Regions from separate parts of the Homo sapiens genome. Here regions 2 and 3 are each linked to region 1. The links are contacts of gene promoters, found by promoter capture Hi-C in blood cells and fetal thymus (Javierre and others, 2016). All regions are on one chromosome and are shown on one strand. Each heading gives the region's core, a stretch centred on a gene start or on the middle of the fragment in contact. The rest is flanking DNA. Distances are from core to core; before and after follow the strand shown.

What was found. The method cuts DNA at HindIII sites, captures the fragments that hold promoters and counts their contacts. A CHiCAGO score of 5 or more calls a contact.
Region 2: a fragment that was not itself captured here is called in contact with the fragment with the promoter of GAB1 in region 1 in 3 of 17 cell types (neutrophils, naive B cells and total B cells); the score reaches 12.5 in neutrophils.
Region 3: a fragment that was not itself captured here is called in contact with the fragment with the promoter of GAB1 in region 1 in 2 of 17 cell types (neutrophils and total B cells); the score reaches 10.9 in neutrophils.

The regions. Positions count from the first base shown.
Region 1 is chr4:143,335,413-143,338,485 of GRCh38, reverse strand. It overlaps GAB1 (GRB2 associated binding protein 1), which reads right to left and starts at 1,610. Exons shown (of 10, transcript NM_002039.4): 1 at 1,226-1,610. The coding sequence starts at 1,297. It also overlaps the pseudogene LOC124900789. RefSeq lists enhancers at 871-1,684, 2,594-2,803 and silencers at 1,714-1,763, 1,834-1,893, 1,994-2,293, 2,234-2,401. The HindIII fragment of the contact is 8,165 bases long and covers 1-3,073 here.
Region 2 is chr4:143,386,374-143,389,446 of GRCh38, reverse strand. All of the region lies in intron 1 of GAB1 (GRB2 associated binding protein 1), which reads right to left. Among named protein-coding and RNA genes, the nearest start is that of MIR3139, 44 kb to the right of the region's middle. The HindIII fragment of the contact is 4,162 bases long and covers 1-3,073 here.
Region 3 is chr4:143,368,918-143,371,990 of GRCh38, reverse strand. The region is part of intron 1 of GAB1 (GRB2 associated binding protein 1); the gene reads right to left. Among named protein-coding and RNA genes, the nearest start is that of MIR3139, 27 kb to the right of the region's middle. The HindIII fragment of the contact is 3,961 bases long and covers 1-3,073 here.

The DNA of each region.
Region 1 (3,073 bases), core at 361-2,860:
GGTGAGTTGTCAGTGAAGTTAAATACTTCACTCTGTGTACTTCACTCTGTTCTATACAAGCAAACAGTGACTAACAGGATTAACCTGAGCTCTAATACTGGGTGTAGATATTCCTCAACGACAAACGGGTTCCCTTCGTACAGGCATTAAATTTATATTATATTTAAGGGGGCATAAATTTTGCTTTTGCAAACACATTTTACTAGAAAAATATTTGATCCAGATGTCAGCACAAAAGTGTCATTTCTTTCCTTTGCAAGGGAGCAGCAACAAAACAACCAATGGGGAGGAAGAATAAGATCCCAGACCTCTGAAGAGGACACAGGTTTCCACTAAAGCAAGGTTGATACTTTCAAGGAATATTTTTCCTAACAGCTAAAACGGTTTAACACATAGCATCTTGTATCAATTACACAAACACCATTAAAGCCACTCTGGTTCCCTGGGAAAGGACCGCAACTGAAATCCCTTCTGGCTTCAGCTGTCCCCTCCTGCCGAGTTTGACAGCACATCCAAGGCGCCCAAACACCAGCCACTAGGCTCCCCCCCAGCGCCCTCCTCTCGCAGCAAACCGCCAAGGCTCCCGGGCCAAACTCCAAAGTCCCTCAATTCAAAACCGCGAAAATGTGAACCCTGCTAAGCAAACGGCAGGGCGCGTAATAACTTTTCTTTCTTTCCCTTTTGCGCGCGTTCGATATGCTTGTCTCTACTACCAACTCCTCAGCTCCACAGCCCGCTTCCCGCAACCCATCTCGAGGGGCGGAGGAGAGGGAGCGCCCACCAAAGAAAGGGCTAGTGAGCCCTAAAACCTCGGCAGTTTTCCCGGTGCGGGAGCTTTAGCACACATCAGCCCAATAATCAGATGCAGGAATAAAGCAGGAAGAAGGCTCCTCTCTCCATCGCACCCCATCCTTCCTAAGGAAGAAAAAAAGCATGCAGCAGGAGTTTAGCTGGACGTCTAGGTCCTTTTATGGGGCGAACAGGCCCGCAAAGCAGGCTGTCTGGAACCTGGAGGAAGAAAGTTGTCCGGCCAAGTGGATGCCTGGGCGTGAGGGAGTGCAAGGCACCCTGTCCCGAGCCCGCCAGGGGTAGGGGCCAAGGGGAAAGAGACCGGCATTCGTTTAAGAACCAGCCCCGCGCGCGGCCAGCTGCAGCCGCCGGCGAGCCGACTGGGGAGGGGTGTGGACGCCGAGGCCCGCGGAGTGGTGCCCGCAGCTCTACTTACATAACGCTTCAACTTTTTCTCCGGGGGGGACTTGCGGAGCCATCCGGAGCAGACCACTTCACCACCGCTCATGGTGCGCGCGTCTCGGGCTCCGGGCCGGGCAGCTGAGGGGCGGCGGGCGCGCTCCCGACACAGCCGACGCCTGCCGAGCGCGCAGTGGCGAGAACCTAGCTCTCCTGGTCGCGCACCCCGGACGGACTGGGCGGACAGACTCCACGGTGCGCGGGTTCCACGAGTTCGAGTCTCTCCTCTGCAGGCCCACGAACCTGAACAGAACGCGAGCCGGGGCCGCGGGCGCGCCGGCCTCCTTTCAGTGCGCCCGCCTCGCCTCCAGACGTGCCGTCTCGCCAGCTGCCTCAGCAGCGCTCGGACTCAGCGGGACTCTGCCCCGACTCGGTGCCGGAGCTTCTGTCCTTTGCGCTCCGCCCCCTAGGGACAAGACCTCCCCAGAGCGCTTTCCGAAACAGACACAGCGCTGCTCACACACACACACACACACACACACACACACAATGCCCCGCGCGGTGCCCGCTCGCCCGCCCACCCGCCCTCGGTTTCGATGCGCCCGGAGCGATCCTCCTTCCCTCTCCTCGGGGGAGGGTGGGTCACTTCGCGGCGCTCGGTGAACGCCGAGGAAAGGGGAAGCCGCGAGCCGCCTACGGGCAGCGGGCGCGGGGCTGGTCCCGGGTCACAGAGGGAGCCGCAGGGTTGGCAGCGAAGCGCGGGGCGTTTCTGAGCGGCGGGCGCAGGGAGGTCGCAGGTCAAGCCGGAGGGTGGGTCCGCTCTCGCGGCCGCCGAAGAGGGCGGGGAGCAGCAGAGGAACGAGGCGCTTGGCGGCTTGGCTCCTGGGAGGGATCCCGCTGTCCCGTCCCCTCGCGCTCCTCCCCCGCCGCCTCCCCCACCCCGGGGCTCGCGGCAGGTCCTGAGCGGCTCGGCCCCAGATCCCGATCCCTCCCTCCCTCTCCCGGCCGCCGGGCTCCTTCTTCCTCCCTCTCCTCCTCCCCTTCCCACGTTCAGGCCCGGCTCCGGTTTCTGCCCAGACTTTCTCTGAAACTCCGCCGGAGTGCTTCCAGCCAAAACAACAAGGGCCGGGGGAGGAGACGGACGAAGGGAGGGAGCAAGGGAGGGAGGGAGCGCGAGTCCGAGAGGCACCCTGGGATCTGTAGTTCGGGAAGCAGGAGCAGGGTCCTCCGCCGTCCGGCGGCCCCCAATCGGCTCCTCGCCCGGGAAGACCGCAGAGGCCTCGGCTAGGGCAGAGGCACCGGGGCTTGGGCGCGGGGAAGACTGAGGGACATTCGAATGTTCAGTCCGGGGCTTGCCATCTTGACTCAGCCCGGTGCCAGCTCGGAGCTTGTGCTGTGCTCGAGATCAGGAGTTTCGAGGGTTTTCTTTACTTGAGAGCCTGAAAGGCAAAACCGCGGGGAGACCACCATCCTGCCGGTCCCCGCCGCGCGAGATTAAAGGACAGACCAAGAGGGCGCGGGAGCTACCAGCTTGGAGGGGAGGACAGATGGGGACCCAGGGCTGGCCAGGGCTGGTCTCTGGAGCTGTTCTGCCAGAGTGATGGGGGCGCTTGGCGAGGCCAAGGATTTGGTTGGGTCCTATCTCTGAGACATTTTGAAGTCTCACACCCCTTCCATTTGTTGCCTATTCCACTTAACTTTGTATTTGTTTGAAATCTACTGTTCGGATGCTGGACTAGAAGAGGGACACTTGGCCGGGCGCGGTGGCTCACGCCTGTAATCCCAGCACTTTGGGAGGCCGAGGCGGGCGGATCAACTGAGGTCGGGAGTTCAAGACCAGCCTGACCAACATGGAGAAACCCAATCTCTACTAAAAATACAAAAA
Region 2 (3,073 bases), core at 418-2,917, 51 kb before region 1:
AACTCCCGACCACACTGCCTACTTAATATCTTTCCTACCAATCCTTTCAATTTTTCTAAATACACATTTGAAATTCATGCTCATCCATCTGCTTCCCAACATTGCCACCAATCTCACTAGGTTTTAATTAAAAGGAGATGAGTGAATGACATAAATTCTTTTCCAGCATACGCAAGTATTTGATTATATACATTGGTCTCCTCATTCTATGCTTGGTTAAAAAGACAGAGGAAGGAAAAGGATGAGATTGGTACTCCATAAGCTAAATCATTCCTATAAAAATAAAAGCTCTTCTTACATTTGATTACCAACTGCGGAAAGATGAAGCTGTGAAAATACCACCTTCTGTGAGTATAATGTGAGTGATTTTAGATGGATCTTTGTGCAGTCAGGTGTGTCCCTGGCAGGCTGGTGTAGAAAATGCTCCAATCCTTCTCTGCAGAGTGGACTGGGCAGTTTTCCTGCAGGTGGCCCACCTCTTGCACTCACAGGGGTTTCTGCCCACATGCTCCTCCTTATGCCTTGCAAAAGCTCTGCCTGATTTCTGGCTCAGCCTTGGCTTTTCAAGGAACTGTTTAAAACTTCTAAATATGAATGTATTTAAATACTGCTTCAGGTCTGAAGAAAACAGTTAAATAGATTTTTTTTTCTTTTCTGCTAAAAACTACCTAAAAATTGGTGTTTTTAAGATCTTAAGTGGCATTTATTTTCAACACAATTATTAGAACTCTAGGCCGGGCGCAGTGACTCATGCCTATAATCCCAGAACTTTGGGAGGTGGAGGTGGGCGGATCACCTGAGGTCGGGAGTTCGAGACCAGCCTGGCCAACATGGTGAAGCCCCATCTCTACCAAAAATACAAAAATTAGCTGGGCGTGTTGACGCACGTCTGTAATGCCAGCTACTCGGGAAGCTGAGGCAGGAGAATTCCTTGAACCTGGGAGGTGGAGGTTGCAGTGAGCCGAGATCGCTCTACTGCTCTCCAGCCTGGGCGACAGAGCGAGACTCTGTCTCGCACACACAAAAAAACCTCTATTTGCATTTGCACTTAAATTCCTCCAGGTGTTAAGTTACATTTTTAGTGAAACACACTAAATTGTAGGTAGCACTGTTTGTAGACACCATCATTGCAACACTGATCAACAAAATAGCCACTAGGCACCTACTAGATGAAACTGATCAGTCAGATCTGGACTTGGCCTCAGATTCTTTCTCTGCAAGAAGATTAGAAACATACATGGAATAACTATAATCCCACACAGAAAGCAGTAAGTGCCTTGGGAGTTATATATAGTACTTGGTATAATTAAAAAAGGGAGCATTCAAAAAGGGAGCGCTTATCCTTAGGTTGTAAGGGAAGGGGGTAGGGGCTGGAGAGGGAAATACAGATGTAGAGAGATGCCAAAACAAAGTCAGAAACCCCCTCTGCCCAGCCATGAATGTTCTACCATGTGCTAAGCCATAGTCCCAAATCCCCAAACCCTTTGGACAGAAGCAAGGAGACAACAGCAAATACGTGGTGGTGGCAAAGTACAGCGCAGGCACAAGGTGTTTCTGTTGGGCTGGAATCTAGGGTGTGTGTAAGACTGTGAAGGAAGACAGGATAGGATCAAGATCAGGATCAAGGAGCGGGAGGACCTTAGAGGCTTGGCTTTACTGAGTAGGTAACAGGGACTCCTTGGAAGTTCTTGAGATGGGACTAATATAAGAGCCACACTTAGAGGAGGTGACTGTGGAGGAGGGTGAATGTCCAGGCAGGGAGACCCGTAAGAAGTCAATGGGAGGAAAGAGTCTGACCTACAGGGGTGGCACTGCTGATAAGCAAGAATCGAATGCAAGACAGAGCAGTGAGCTGCAGGAAGAGGGAAAAGTCCAGGAGTTAGGATGCTCCACTTTAAAGATGGAAGCTCACGTCAGTAAGCAGCCTTCTGTGCCTTCATCCCTTTACCTCCACCAGGCTACTTCATGCCTGGCTCCTCAAATCTGTCCCTGAACATTGCTTCTTCAACAATCACTTGCCAGGCATGGTGGCTCACGCCTGTTATCCCAGTGCTTTGGGAGTCCAAGGCAGGTGGATCACCTGAGGTTGGGAGTTTGAGACCAGCCTGACCAACATGGAGAAATCCTGTCTCTATTAAAAATACAAAATTAGCCGGGCGTGGTGGCGCATGCCTGTAATCCCAGCTACTTGGGAGGCTGAGGCAGGAGAATTGCTTGAACCCAGGAGGCAGAGGTTGTGATGAGCCAAGATAGCATCATTGCATTCCAGTCTGGGCAAAAAGAGCGAAACTCTGTCTCAAACAAACAAACAAACAACAACAACAAAAAACCAATCACCTGCATACCAACTCACTGCCCCATGGGCCACTAGTATGCCTAAGTACAAAGTTCTAACTCTACATTTCAAAGGCAGTGATTCACCCTTCTTATCATTCTCTTTACTGTGGCAGAGACTACCAGTTGCTCCTCCCATGTTCATTTCCCCATTGTCTACAGTAGACATCAACAAAAAAATCTTCTGTAAAGGGCAAGATAATAAATACTTTAGGTTTTGCAGGCCATATGATCTCTGCAGCAACTACATGTTGTGTATTACTAATCTGAAAATCCAAAATCTTCTAAAATCTGACACTTTCTGGGCACTGACACAACACTACAAATGAGAATTCACATACCTGACCTCATTTGACAGGTTGCAGTCAAAACACAATCAAAATTTGTTTCATATACAAAATTATTTAAAATATTGTATAAAATTGGGCCAGGCGCAGTGGCTCATGCCTGTAAACCTAGCATTTTGGGAAGGTGAGGTAGATGGATTGCTTGAGCCCAGAAGTTTGAAACTAGCCTGGGCAATGTAGCAAGACTTCATCCCTATAAAAAATCAAAAAATTAGTTGGGCATGGTAGTGCATGCCTTTAGTCCCAGCTACTGGGGAGGCTGAAGTGGGAGAATCACTTGTGCCCAAGAGGTCAAAGCTACAGTGAACCATGATCACACCACTGCCACTCCAGCCTGGGTGACAGAATAGGACTCTGTCTTAAAAATAAAAAATATTATTTATATAAAATTG
Region 3 (3,073 bases), core at 301-2,800, 34 kb before region 1:
AGATGCTGAATGAACAGGAAGTCTGTATTTTTGGATGCTTGAACTGGGTAACCTCAAGTATTTTTGAAAGTCAATGATTCTTCATAAAAACGAGTTCTGTACAGAGCCCTCAGAAATAATACCACAAATCTACAACCATGTGATCTTTGACAAACCTGACAAAAACAAGAAATCGGGAAAGGATACCCTATTTAATAAATGGTGTTAGGAAAACTGGCTAGCCACATGTAGAAAGCTGAAACTGGATCCCTTCCTCACACCTTATACAAAAATTAATTCAAGATGGATTAAAGACTTAAATGTTAGACCTAAAACCATAAAAACCCTAGAAGAAAACCTACGCAATACCATTCAGAACATAGGCATGGGCAAGGACTTCAAGACTAAAACACCAAAAGCAATGGCAACAAAAGCCAAAATTGACAAATGGGATCTAATTAAACTAAAGAGCTTCTGCACAGCAAAAGAAACTACCATCAGAGTGAACAGGCAACCTACAGAATGGGAGAAAATTTTTACAATCTACCCATCGGACAAAGGGCAAATATCCAGAATCTACAAAGAACTTAAACAAATTTACAAGAAAAAATCAAACAACCCCATCAAAAAGTGGGTGAAGGATATGAACAGACACTTCTCAAAAGGAGACATTTATGCAGCCAACAGACACATGAAAAAATGCTCATCATCACTGGCCATCAGAGAAATGCAAATCAAAACCACAATGAGATACCATCTCACACCAGTTAGAATGGCGATCATTAAAAAGTCAGGAAACAACAGGTGCTGGAGAGGATGTGGAGAAATAGGAACACTTTTCCACTGTTGGTGGGACTGTAAACTAGTTCAACCATTGTGGAAGTCAGTGTGGCGATTCCTCAGGGATCTAGAACTAGAAATACCATTTGACCCAGCCATCCCATTACTGGGTATATACCCAAAGGAATATAAATCATGCTGCTATAAAGACACATGCGGACATATGTTTATTGCGTCACTATTCACAATAGTAAAGACTTGGAACCAACCCAAATGTCCATCAATGATAGACTAGATTAAGAAAATGTGGCACATATACACCATGGAATACTATGCAGCCATAAAAAAGGATGAGTTCATGTCCTTTGTAGTGACATGGATGAAGCTGGAAACCATCATTCTGAGCAAACTATCGCAAGGACAGAAAACCAAACACTGCATGTTCTCACTCATAGGTGGGAACTGAACAATGAGAACATGTGGACACAGGGCAGGGAACATCACACCCCGGGGCCTGTTGTGGGGTCAGGGGAGCGGGGAGAGATAGCATTAGGAGATATACCTAATGTAAATGACGAGTTAATGGGTGCAGCACACCAACATGGCACACGTATACATATGTAACAAACTTGCACGTTGTGCACATGTACCCTAGAACTTTAATTTAAAAAAAAAAGAGTTCTGTACTATCAATGAGGACAGCAGGGATATCCCACTCACTATAACATCTGCACAGGACTGTTTCCACTTAACTCCAATCTACTCCCCACCTATTTGTACTCTTTGAGCCTGAAGAGTCTGATCTGTCAAGGACTGCAACAATCCTTGTTCTACACTGGTTGTGTTTAGTCAAAAGGGACAATGGCTGGAGACAGAAGAGCCCAGGGTCAGGGAACAGAACTGCTGGCTGTGTCCCTGTATGTTCTCAGTGGACAGTCTCCCTTGACTGCAGACCTCAGCTCCTATAAGGCAGCCATTTGTACACAGCCAGTGGTTTGATAACATTTCCTCCTCTTTCTTCCTCACGTACAGATATTAGCCCTTGCCCCATACCCTTTTACTTGCCCTTGTATATTCTTACTATACCCTACATTTTTACTGTCTTTTTATGAAATGTTCCCCAAATTATCCAACTTGTGTGTGCCATCCGCCTCCCACCAGGTCCCTGACCAATGCAACACCTAAGTGAGTGCTTATGCCATTTTTGTTTGACCACTTACAAGGACAAAGAGGGAGCACACTAGGTTTTGGAGAACTGTAATTGTTAGACATATCTCCTTTATATTCAGCCAACTCTGTAACTCTTATTCATTAATTTTAGTGCTGCTATGGAAATAACACTAGGCCTTTTGCTTATTTGAAGCCAGTTTTCAAAAGCAGTTATAAAGATGGGGAGACATACAATAGGCACGGGTCACAACGTATGAGTCTCATGTCTCAGCACAACTGCATAGGCAGCTTGACTTCCTGTGCCTTCTGTAATAGCAGCTTCCCGGTTTAGCAAGCATGTTGGCTTCAAATCCAATCATTCCTTCAGAAGCAGGAAGCAATGTCAGGTTATCATGCAACAATATCAAATCTGGGGCACCAACAGCAGTTATGAGGAAATCATATATATATTGTGTTCCTTCTCCAAATATGAGTTTATAAAACAGCAAACACCACAAAACTTTTTTCATCTTCTATTATTGAGGCTGACCTTCTGTGGGAATTACTAGAGCAACAGGATATTTTCATCCTGCATTGATTTTTTCTTATAAAAAGTATATCAAGTGTAAAAACATTGTCTTTTCTCACTGTAGCCAGAGTGAAAAACTAAATGAATTAAAGTGCTTGGTAAGAGCTGGTATTTCTTGGCCAGCTGCGGTTGTTCACACCTGTAATCCCAGCACTTTGGGAGGCTGAGGCAGGCAGATCACTTGAGGTCAGGAGTTTGAGACCAACCTGGCCAACATGGTGAAACCTCATCTCTACTAAAAATACAAAAAAATGGCCGGGTGCGGTGGCTCATAACTGTAATCCCAGCACTCCGGGAGGCCAAGGTGGGTGGATCACCTGAGGCCAGGAGTTTGAGACCAGCCTGGCCAACACGGCAAAACCCCGTCTCTACTAAAAAATAAAACAATTACCTGAGCGTGGTGGTGCACACCTGTAATCCTAGCTACTCGGGGGGCTGAGGCTGGAGAATTGCTTGAACCCAGAAGGTAGAGGTTGCAATGAGCTGAGATCATGCCACTGCACTCCAGCCTGGGCAACAGAGCAAGACTCCATCTCAAAAAATTGGCCGGGTGTGGTGATGGGCACCTGTAATCTC